2 separate regions of the Homo sapiens genome follow, and region 2 is linked to region 1. Evidence: promoter capture Hi-C in human tissues and cell types (Jung and others, 2019). All regions are on one chromosome and are shown on one strand. Each heading gives the region's core, a stretch centred on a gene start or on the middle of the fragment in contact. The rest is flanking DNA. Distances are from core to core; before and after follow the strand shown.

Region 1 (6,270 bases), core at 924-3,423:
AACTTTTTTGTATTTTCAGTAGAGATGAAGTTTTGCCATGTTGGCCAGGCTGGTTTCGAACTCCTGGCCTCAAGTGATCTGCCTGCCTCGGCCTCCCAAAGTTCTGGGATTACAGGTGTGAGCCACCATGCCCAGCCCTAACATTCCATTTGTTTAGTCATCCGTTGATGGACACTTGCATTGCCTCCACTTTTTGGCTATTATGACTAATGCCTTGATGAACATGAGTATATAAATATCTTTTCAAGTTCCTGCTTTCAATTCTTTTGTGTATTTACCCAGAAGTGGAATTGTGGGGTCACATGGTAGTTCTATGTTTAATTTTTTGAGGAACCACCATACTGCTTTCCACCATGGCAACTTCACATCATTAAAAGGCCATTTATCAGTGATTTAGATCAAGATATTGTGATCTAATTTTTTTTTTTTTTTTTGAGATGGACCCTGGCTCTGTCACCCAGGCTGGAGTCCAGTGGCACGATCTCGGCTCGCTGCAACCTCCGCCTCCCAGATTCAAGCAATTCTCCTGCCTCAGCATCCTGAGTAGCTGGGACTACAGGTGCGTGCCACCATGCTTGGCTAATTTTTGTATTTTTAGTAGAGACAGGATTTCATCACATTGGTCAGGCTGGTCTCGAACCCCCGACCTCGTGATCCGCCCGCCTCGGTCTCCCAGTGCTGGGATTATGGCATGAGCCACCGTGCCTGGCCTTAAAATTCTATATAGAACTTTTAGCAAGACAGCATGTACAATGAAGGATTAGTAAAAAATGGTGTTTCAGTGCTTTTTCTTGCTTCTCTTCAGAAATAAACCTTTAAAAAGATGTATATAGGTGGGCTAAAAGAAAAACTATTTTTTCCCCTCAGGTGGGGGAATTTAAAGTGTTAAGGGCCAGGCATGTTGGCTCACATCTGTAATCGCAGCACTTTGGGAGGCCAAAGTGGGAGGATCACTTGAGTCCAGGGGTTTAAGACCAATCTGGGCAATATGGCGAGACCCTGTCTCTCTGAAAAATGAAACAAAAAAAGTGTTAAGGCAGTCAAAGTGTTGTGTCCCTGACCACTCACCTTGTTCTCTAAATCCCAGACCTGAACTGTGTTTCTTAGGGCCAAAATGAACTGAAACATAAATTGCCTGGACCTACCTCAGACTAGAGACACTCCTGAGTCTGGAGAACCAACCCAGGAGAAATAGCACAGCCATCTGACCCGAGTTATCATACAGTTCTTCTCATTGTCCTATTTTATTTTCTCTAAAGCACAAATCACTATTTTATTTTTTTATTTTTTGAGATGGAGTCTTGCTCTGTAGCGCAGTCTGGAGTGCAGTGGCACCATCTCGGCTCACTACAGCCTCTGCCTCCTGGGTCCAAGTGATTCTTCTGCCTCAGCCTCCCAAGTAGCTGGACTACAGGTGTGGGCCACCATGCCTGGCTTACAAATCACTATTTTAAATGATCGTGTTTTTTTTTTTTTTTTTTTTTTTTGCATGTTTTTCAGCTGTCTTCCTCCATCAGAGCGTAAGCTCCATAAAAATCAAGACTGTGTTATTGGCTGGGCGCTGTGGATCATGCCTGTAATCCCAGCACGTTGGGAGGCCGAAGCAGGCAGATCGCTTTGAGCTCACGAGTTCGAGACCAGGCTGGGCAACATGGCAAAACCCCCTCCTCTTAAAACATAACAAAACAAAAACCAAAAATTAGCTGGACATGGTGCTATGTGCCTGTGGTCCCAGCTACTAGGGAGGCTGAGGTGGGAGGATCGCTTGAGCTGGGGAGACAGAGGTTGCAGTGAGCTGAGACTGCACCACTGCACTCCAGCCTGGGCAACAGAGTGAGACCTTGTCTGAAAATAAACAAATAAAAAATAAAATTAAGTATTTTAAACACTAAGAAAAGCTCCCATTATCCTTATTAACACATCCTAAGATTTTACCACATTGCTTCACATTTTTTTTCTTTTTTTTTTTTAAAGGATAGAGACAAAAATATATAGGAGATGGAGAAGTGGCTAATGTGGCAAGTTTCTGAAAATAGACAGTCTTTATTAACTCATAAGACAAATGGTTCACATGCATCTCTTATATAAACTCAAACTACAGATCCCAGGCAGCACTGCAATAATAGACACGTGGACTGTTCTTTTCTTCTCTGTAAACAGCCAATGAGAGGCAGAGTTTACAAAGGTCTAGGATGACATCTGGTGTATTGACTGTGGCCAGTCTTAAAGCTAGTTTTTGCTATGTGGAACATGCTGCTCTAATTCAGATTTAAAGAGTTTCTTCCTGTTAATTCGAAGCTCACTGTGCCTCTTGTTTCCGAGGGAAGAAGGACTGATTAAGTCATCTAAATGGATGCAATACTGAATTACAGGTCAGAAGATACTGAAGATTACTACACATTACTGGGATGTGATGAACTATCTTCGGTAAGACAGTGGATAATATTTTTATCACAACAGTATTCTTTTTCACAATAGTATTTCAAGTTTTTATTTAAGGTTTTAACTTTGAATTTTTAGTCACATTGCCTACAAACCTAACCTTGTGTTGTTTTAAAGCACTTTTGGCTCAGAGAAAGTTAAGAATTTAAATGTATGTTGGGATTTTACTTGAATAGTGTCCTATGGGAATTTTACGGAAGCTTCTGATTAAATATGTGTATTCTGGCACATGGCCATATGCTGTTTCACAATATAGTATATTAAAAATAAATATTTGAAATTTTATTGTAATTTCTGATGGCAGTGTTTCACAGTATATATAAGCTATACCTTTATTATGGTGACTCATAATTGAGGTGAAATGAAATTTCTTATAAAATTAGGGATTTTAATATATTTTATTAAAATGTGTACTCCTATGTGAGCAGTCAAAATAGAAACAAAGAAGCATCCCTTTATGTTAATATTTCAAATTGTGTGACAGAAATTACTTCTTGAAAGGGTGGCTTCTGAAACAAAACATGTGAAAACTCTGTAGCTGTTCACTGGATCTGTAAGAAAACAAAATTTTTAAAGTTCTCAATAAACAATTATAAAGGTTGTAGAGGTTTTTTAAATTATGGAAAAATCATTTATAATTCTCTCTCCCAAGGATAACAGTATTAATATTTTGGCATATTAATCTCCACTATTCTTTCTATGTATATTCTTTAAAGACCTGTTTGGGAGGATATTATATGTACTTGTTGATTCCTGCTTTTTACCCATTCGTATTATAACAAGGAATTTTCCATGCTATTAAACTTTCCTTGTACACTTTTTAGTGGTTGCAAAATATTTTATTTTGCTGTGTTACCACAGTTGAATTATTCTCTTATTGTTAAATATTTTATTTCCAATTTTTCAATATTTCAAATAATGTTGAGATTAATATAAAATATATTCATTATTAAATTATATATTATTAAATCATGTTATTAGGATATATTTATGTTTTATAATTAATGTATTTTATTTTATTTATTTTTATTAAAATCTAAGTAGTAAAATTAACATTGTAAAGCAAAATGTTTTTATATTTATTGTTGTTTCATAAAGGCAGTAGTTCATTAATAAAATGTGCTTAGTTTTGTTTTAAGAATAGAATGCATTACTGGACACAAAGGATTAAAATCTCTATTTTTGCCATGCTGAGGAAGTTATCTTAGACACGTTGAAATTAAAAAAACTGCCCCGCCCCCAGAATAGCTTATAATGGTCTTTTAGTTGCATATTTCTTCTCAAGAATGTGTTATTCTTGTTTATGTTGGTGGTGATTTGCTTATAGCAATTGAGAAAGCTTATTACCATTTTTACCATGTGTTATTCACAGTTGAAATTATACTATTATCAAACAATTTTTGAAGGAATAATTTAAAATCAAAGGAATATAATTTAACTTGATAAGGCTGACAATTTGGATTTAAAAAAATACATGCTAGCTTATACAGTAAGGGTCATTATATCTCCATAATCTTGTGACCTATTTAGTCAGTCCTTTTTTTTTTTTTTCAATTTTACTTTAAGTTCTGGGATCCCTGTGCAGAATGTGCAGGTTTGTTACATAGATACACATGTGCCAGGGTGGTTTGCTGCACCTATCAACCCATCATCTAGGTTTTAAGCCCCGCATACATTAGGTATTTGTCCTAATGCTGTCCCTCCCCTTCTCCCCCACCCCCCGACAGGCCCCGGTGTGTGATGTTCCCCTGCCTGTGTCCATGTGCTCTCATTGTTCATCTCCCACTTATGAGTGAGAACATGTGGTGTTTGGTTTTCTGTTCCTGTGTTAGTTTGCTGAGAATGATGGTTTCCAGCTTCATCCATGTCCCTGCAAAGGACATGAACTCATTCTTTTTTATGGCTGCATAGTCAGTCTTTTGAAGTTATGCTGTTGTCTTTTCAATCTACATAGAAGGAGGATTCATTTTGGACAGCCTTACAGAAAATAATCTCGTTGTTAATGTGTAATATTCAAAATATGGTTACCAGGTGGAGTCATACTTCCTTGTCTCAACATTCCTTTTACTGGATGTATTTTACTGGTCTGTCAATGGCATATCATATCTAGATAACAATTATTTATTTTTAATGAAATGTTTGTCATAATATTGTCACTTCTTTATATATATGTGTGTGTGTGTGTGTGTGTGTGTGTGTGTCATTTTTTCTCTCTTTTTTTTGTTTTTTTGAGATGGAGTCTCACTCTGTTGCCGGGCTGGAGTGCAGTGGTGCAATCTCAGGTCACTGCAACCTCCGCCTCCCAGGTTCAAGTGATTCTCCTTCCTCAGCTTCCTGAGTAGCTGGGACTACAGGCACATGCCACCATGCCTAGCTAATTTTTGTATTTTTAGTAGAGACGGGGTTTCACCGTGTTGGCCAGGATGGTCTTCATCTCTTGACCTCGTGATCTGCCTACCTCGGCCTCCTAAAATACTGGGATTACAGACGTGAGCCACCGCACCTGGCTTTTCTCTTCTTTTTATAGGTATGCTTCTCATTTCAAAAATATTTTTATGACATTTTTGACTAATATGACATTTCCTTTACTTGATTTGTATTGGATAGATTGCCTTTACTTCAGGTATTCCTTCATTTGATGCTCTAAAATTAACCAGAACTCATCATGCCCGAAAGCATTTTAGCTGTTATAATTTCAAAACAATTTGATATTCTAATTTTACTTATCACAATTGAATTGAGACACCCACATAATACTTTTGCTTTGGTATATAGTTCTTACAATTTAAAGTTTGTGCTAGAAATTGATTAAAGTAAAATTATGTATTTTCTAATGGTTCTAGAGCAGTAATCCTGAAGCTTTTCCTTCTCAGAGAGTTTTTAAAATTATCTTTCAGAAATTGAAAATACAACCATGAAAACAAGCAATGAGACTAATTTTCTAGTTTACATAATGACATATATAAATTATGGGAGGATTTCCATGTTATATAGAAAACAATATATTCCCCATTTCAAAACAATTTAACAAAGATTGATTCCAAGACAGTTAGCCTTTCTCCCTATATTGGATTTTTTTTTTAAATTTTTGTTTCTTTGAGATGAAGTCTCACTGTGTTGCCCAGGCTGGAGTGCAGTGGCAGGATCTCAGCTCACTGCAGCCTCCTGGGTTCAAGTGATTCTCCTGCTTCAGCCTCCTGAGTAGCAGGGATTATACGTGCATGCCACTATGCCCAGCTAATTTTTGTATTTTTGTACAGATGAGCTTTCACCATGTTGTCCAGGCTGGCCTTGAACTCCTGACCTCAAGTGATCCGCCGCCTTGGCCTCCCAAAGTGTTGGGATTACAGGCATGAGCCACCGCGCCCGGCCTCTATTCCTCAGTTTTCTAACCTGTAAATGGAAGTAAATAGTACCCACCTCACAGAGTTGTGGGGATTAAATAATACGTGATATATAAAGTACTTTGAACAGTGCCTGGTGCAGAGCGCTAAGTTGTGGTGGTTGTGGTTGTGGCTGTTGTTTTGGCCCCCACAGTGTTACTGTGCACTTGGAACTTAGTACACTTATCCTATCCTTGAGTTTGCATTATTTTTAAGATGTTTTATTTTGCAATAATTTTTGACTTACAGAAAAGTTGTAAAAATAGTACAACAGAGTTCCTATATACCCTTAACCCAGCTTCCCTTTATGTTAACATCATACCTAATGAAAGTATAATGATCAAAATCAGAAATTAAAAAAAATTATAGCTCTGAGGCATTTTATTATAAAAGCTTGGTACTCATATACATAAACTAAAATGAACTTAAAATTCATCATACATTT
Region 2 (6,149 bases), core at 1,725-4,224, 130 kb before region 1:
GATTGGATTTGGGTTAAACTATTTTTACTTCATAGATCATTTGTATGCTTCTTGTTGAGCTATATCACCAAGAACATAATATTTCATTGTTCCAGTATTGGTGATGATTAGTTAGATCACTTGATGAAGATGGTGCTCTCCACTGTAAAGATTTGTTTTTATCTTTGTAATTAATAGGTAATCTCTAGGGTGGTAATTTGCATCCTCTTCATTTTTCACATCGTGTCCAGATATCACCTTCTAAAGTTTATTCTAATCAGATGCCAGCACAGAGCAACACTTAACAAGCATTAGCTGCTATTATTATTAAGGTCCCATTTCCCAACCATAAGTCTTTATAGTATCTAGTTTATATATACCGTATACAGTTTAATCATTACATATCTCATACTGTGTTGTAGTTATAAAGACATGTCTTTTCTAGATTTTGGGGTACTGAATGCAGATATCACATCTTACAAATCTTTGTGTCTCCCATAGCACTTAACTAGCATTTTGCATATAGTAGGCACTCAGTAATTATTTTTTGTAGGAAGAAAAAAATAGCTAAGAAAATCCCCAAAGCATTTTTTTCTTTAGATATTTTAAATTTCTCTGTCTTGGCCAGGCGTGGTGGCTCACGCCTGTAATCCCAACACTTTGGGAGGCCAAGGTGGACAGATCACAAGGTCAGGAGATCGAGACCATCCTGGCTAACACGATGAAACTCCGTCTCTACTAAAAATACAAAAAATTAGCCGGTCATGATGGCGGGTGCTTGTAGTCCCAGCTACTCAGGAGGCTGAGGCAGGAGAATGGCGTGAACCCGGGAGGCAGAGCTTGCAGTGAGCTGAGATTGTGCCACTGCACTCCAGCCTGGTTGACAGAGTGAGACTCCGTCTCAAAAAATAAAAAAAATTTGTCTGTCTTGAGTACTGGTTAAATTTAATGTCAATTACATTTTCTTTTGTAGGTAAATGAGAAAATGGGACAGATTATACAGTATGATAAATTTTATATACATGAAGTACAAGAATTGATAGACATAAGAAATGATTATATCAACTGGGTCCAACAGCAGGCCTATGGAATGGTAGGTTTTCTGTGCAATTTGTGATTTCATTTTTATGTATATGTATCTAATAAAAAAAGAAACAATTGCTTGGTTTTGAAATGAGAAAGTTTTTTCAGAACTTTTATCCAGAACTTACTTTTTAAATAATAACACATTGCAAAGGAGTGCTATATATTTTACAATATTTATATGCAAACATTCTACTCTTTTACCAAAGCCAAACCAAAGAAATGGATTACACTGTAAAACAAAACAAAACAAGACAAAAAAAACCTACAAGTGTGAAATGGATTTTTAACTCTTTTATTTTCCATGAGGTTGCCTCTTATTTCTCCAGTGTTGAAAATACTGGCATTCTTCATACTGGAACTCCTAAGAATGCATTATTGTTGTGAAATTGGTGCTTCAAGACTACCAAAAGAGGACTGGGTGTGGTGGCTCATGCCTGTAATCTTAGCACTTTGGAGCCTGAGGCAGGTGGATTCCCTGAGCTCGGGATTTCAAGACCAGCCTCGGCAACATGACGAAATCCCATCTCTACTAAAAATACAAAAAATTAGCCAAGTGTGGTGGCACATGCCTGTAATCCCAGCTACTCAGAAGGCTGAGGCATGAGAATCACTTGAACCTGGGAGATGGAGGTTGCAGTGAGCCGATTATGTGTTTACTTTTATTTCAGATTTTTAATATAAATGTGGGTGCGTACATCTTTTTATGCAGCTAAGTCTTTAATAACTAGACACTATCCCATTAAAATAGTACCATGGTCTTATAAAACTTGAATTAGGCACATAAAATTTTAATGCAGAAATGGGTAAGCAGTTAGATACAAAATATTTAGGTTTACTACTCTTATTTGCTAGCCATTTGTGTATACTTGAGGCCCACTTTTCTGTACCCAGGTAATTTAATATGTGTGCAGCAGTTATATAATAGAAGGGTGAGTAACTTTTCATTGCTTGCTAGGCACCAGCTGTAAGCTCCTTGTGGATGGGTGCTCTTGTCAGTCAACCAGCACCTCTGACAGTGTCTAGAATATGTCTAGTAAGCACTAAAAAAGTACAGTAGTTTTTGAATGGCAATCTGGTTAGTGCACGCTGTTTTTAGGATACTCCCACCTTCCGGAATCAGGTTGCTTCTAGACATCTTTTCCTTCCCTAGTGTACTTGGGTCTGGACTGGGAGAGACTCATTGACTTTTCTCCTGAGTCACTTTGAGGCTGGGTCAGGTTTATAGCCATTCTATAGATTTAGGTCTATTCATTTGCTTATTCAACAAACAATGAGAATCTGTTATATAACAGGCACTGATTTAGGTATTGGAAATACAGTGGTGAACCAGACAGAGCCTTGTTTCTCATGGAATTCGTAATCTACTGGGCAAGATTGGCAATAGTCAAACAAAGCAAAAAATACCAGCTAATAATATGTATTATTAAAATGAGGGGACTTAGTAAAGATAGGTTTCAGAAAAGACTTATCTAATGAAGTATGAGTACTAATCTGAATGACAAGGAGCAGCCCTTTAAGATCAGGGCAGAGAGAATTTCAAGAACAACGAACATTTGGTAAAATACCTGAGGTGAAAACAAGCTTGACATGATTGAAGGACAGAAAAAAGCCAGCATTAGGCCAGGTGTGGTGGCTCACGCCTGGAATCCCTGCATTTTGGGAGGCCGAGGTGGGCAGATCACGAGGTCAGGAGTTCAAGACCAGCCTGACCAACATAGTGAAACCCCGTCTCTACTAAAAATACAAAAACTTAGCCAGGCATGGTGGTGGGCGCCTGTAATCCCAGCTACTTGGAAGGCTGAGGCAGGAGAATTGCTTGAACCCAGGAGGTGGAGGTTGCAGTGAGCTTAGATTGCACCATTGCACTCCAGCATGGGCGACAGTGTGAGACTCCTTTCAAAAAAAAAAAAGAAAGAAAGAAAGAAAGGAAAACAGCCAGCATGGCTTATGGGAGTGAGGAGGGAACAGAGAAATGGGCAGGGGCCAGATCATAGAGAGTTTAGTAAACTAGGATTAGGAATTTGGATTTTATCTAAAGTGTTAATGATAAACAGGGGAAACTTAATCTGATCTTTTTGAATGATCACTTTGTTGGCTGTGTAGGGAACGGGACAGAAATGAAAGACGGAAATCCATGAGAAAGCTATATTTTAGTAGATTAGGGGAGAGGAAATGATGGGTTTGACTAGGATGATGGTTATTTAGATGGAAGAAGGAAATGGAATATGTCTTGGAGATAAAAGGGAATCTTGGAGACAAAAGGAAAATAAAAATCACTGATGGATTGGATATGAAGTGAGGAAAGGAGAGAAATCCACAAAGATTAAAAAGCAGGTGTGGTAGAGGGAAAACTAGGAGAGTCTTGGAAACCAAAATTTAAAAGTGAAAGAGAGACTGTTGAATGCTGCAGAGGAGGAGGATGAAACCTTAGAATTGACAGTGAATTTGGTTACATGAAGGTAATTGGTAACCTTGATAATACCATTCTTGGGTTGGGATGTTGTAAAGAGAAATTTAGAGGTAAGGAAGCAGTAACAACCATTGGCAATACTTTGACGAAGTTCTGCATTGAAGAGGAGCAAAAAAAAAAAAAAAAAATGGAGTGGTAGCTGGAATCAAGGGATAATTTTTTAAGAAAGAAAATAATTGACCTCAGCAGTTTTGAATAAATATTTCCTTTTTTCTTCATCTCTGACCTAGGTAAAGCTTCTCAAACTCTTCCTTTAGAGAACCTGTGATGGCAGGAGAAATAACATATTTCTTAAGGATTTAACCTTCCCTCAGCAAGACTTGAACTGAGGCTAATTTTCTATCTTTAAATGCAAATTTTGCATTATGGGCATAATAGATATTGCAGTATAAAAGAGATTTAATTTATTTGTCATTGAGGAAAATTGATTCTTCAGGAAATGAACCTTGTTCATACCAAGACTTTGCATATAAACCCTCACACACCAACCAGGGTACCCTAGGTCTTTTAGCAGTGTTTTTGAAAGGATTCAGAACATTTGGAGGGATATGTGGACCCTTTTAAAGAAGAACAATTTCTTAAGAAGCCCAGTGTTCACTTACATATTATATAAATATATACACACATTAAACTAGTTCTAAACTCTTGGTGTTTAGCTCTTAAAAGAACTCTAAGACCACAGCAAATTTATAATTATAAATAACATTACAGTCCAGGTGCGGAGGCTCACGTCCCAGCACTTTGGGAGGCCGAGGTGGGCAGATCACCTGAGGTCAGAAGTTCTAGACCAGTCTGGCCAATATGGCGAAACCCCGTCTCTACTAAAAATACAAAAATTAGCCAAGCATCGTGGCGGGCACCTGTAATCCCAGCTACTTAGGAGGCTGAGGCAGGAGAATGGCTTGAACCCGGGAGGTGGAGGTTGCAATGAGTTGAGATCACGCCACTGCACTCCAGCCTGGGCAACAGAGTGAGACTCCATCTCAAAAAATAAATAAATAGTAAATAACATTACAAATTGGCAAATTAAGTTAATTTATTATGGAGAATGTTGTAATGATGAAGAATTCTAACTCACAACATAAATATGTATGATGAGAAAGCAGAGTAACTTTTATGAGAGTGCCTGGATTCAAATCCCACCTCAGCATATATTCAGTTCTGTCCTTGGGAAAATTACTTAATTTCTCTGAGATTTCATTTTGTTTTCTGTAAATTAGGATATTAGTACCTACCTTAAAAAGTTTTGAGAAGATTAATTTATATGATCCCTGTGAAGGACTTAGAGTAATTTCTGGCACACAGTTAAGTCTTTATAAAATGGTGATTATTGTTGCTGGCTACCTTGACACAGGCTACAAATTTGGCAGTAGCTTTTATTCTGACGTGTCTAATAACTCTGTTCTCTTGCTGCCTTTCTCTATGTGCACTATAATGAAACATTTTCTAAGAGCATTTTCTAGGTACTATTCTCAGTTTCCTTATCCTCCTTTAACTTTGCTTTTAAATTGTTTGTAAAAATACCTTATTGGTTACTACCAAACTCTTTGCTATTTTTTCTTCCCTTTCTGATACTTTTAGTTAATTATCTTTATCTGGTTTTCCCTTTGGTGCCTCTCTCTCTTAGAAAAATGATTATACCTAATGTCTAATCATCTCTCTTTTTCTGAAGTTTTTCACGTCCTATTATTTTTCATATTCTTGCCAGTTCACATCTTTCTGTCCCAATTTTTAGTGTAACCAAATTATATTCTGCTTAGTATGGGTTAGTCGCACTATAAATTCTAACATTATCTTACTGACTTCCCCAGTGTATAATGATATGTATAACATCTATATCTACTTACATGTAGTAGTAAAAAAGATAATGCATACATACTAATATTTCATTGTTTAGCTAAGGAGAAAATCGATCTCCCATACTATAAACTCCCTTGGTATATAGTATAGTTATCAAGCAGGCCATAGATAAATTTTTATAGGCTTTTTTTTTTTTGCTTATTTAAACTTTCTTAGTAGTAATAACACTTTTTAAATGTCCTACAAGAGGAATATTGGTGATATGAAGGCTGTGCATATGTGAGGATAAGGGTATATTGGAAGTCTCTGCACCTTACTTTCAATTTTGCTGTGAATCTAAAGCTGCTTTAAAATAATAAAGTTCTTTTTTCAAAAAAAGTCCCACAAGGTATACTATAAAAGGATTTCAGATGTTCCTTTTATATTGCCTTCTAGCTAAACAGAGTGTAATCTGAAAGGTTTTTTTGCAGAACAGTCTCTAAAGACTTTCATCTTGTTTACACTGCCAGTTGGAGCATTTATGTGGTAATAACTTGGTACTGTGAATTTTTTTAAAGAAATTCTTGTCAATAATATTCTTCCTCTGAATAGGGTTTGCATAGAGTGATGTTTTGCTTATGCTTACACTGCTTTGGCTTTACTTAATATAGTGAGAGAACCCAAAGTCTTTGCTAATATCTTAAATCCTCCAATAATATCGCTGGTGACACGTGGGAACTCAGTCAACTACAAAGTTAAAGAGAACAGTTTACACAAGACTGCCCTCACTTCTGATACCAATTGTGAGTTTGGGGAGGGTCCCCCAAACTACCCT

What was found. The method cuts DNA at HindIII sites, captures the fragments that hold promoters and counts their contacts. A contact is called where the count stands out against the background at its distance.
Region 2: a contact is called between a fragment that was not itself captured here and the fragment with the promoter of DNAJC12 in region 1, in 2 of the 25 tissues and cell types used here (mesendoderm cells and thymus).

Annotation. Positions count from the first base shown.
Region 1 is chr10:67,834,091-67,840,360 of GRCh38, reverse strand. It overlaps DNAJC12 (DnaJ heat shock protein family (Hsp40) member C12), which reads left to right and starts at 2,173. Exons shown (of 5, transcript NM_021800.3): 1 at 2,173-2,427. The coding sequence starts at 2,350. It also overlaps the pseudogene DNAJC19P1. The HindIII fragment of the contact is 7,681 bases long and covers 1-3,212 here.
Region 2 is chr10:67,961,606-67,967,754 of GRCh38, reverse strand. It overlaps HERC4 (HECT and RLD domain containing E3 ubiquitin protein ligase 4), which reads left to right. Exons shown (of 25, transcript NM_015601.4): 16 at 953-1,072. Among named protein-coding and RNA genes, the nearest start is that of SIRT1, 80 kb to the right of the region's middle. The HindIII fragment of the contact is 5,776 bases long and covers 87-5,862 here.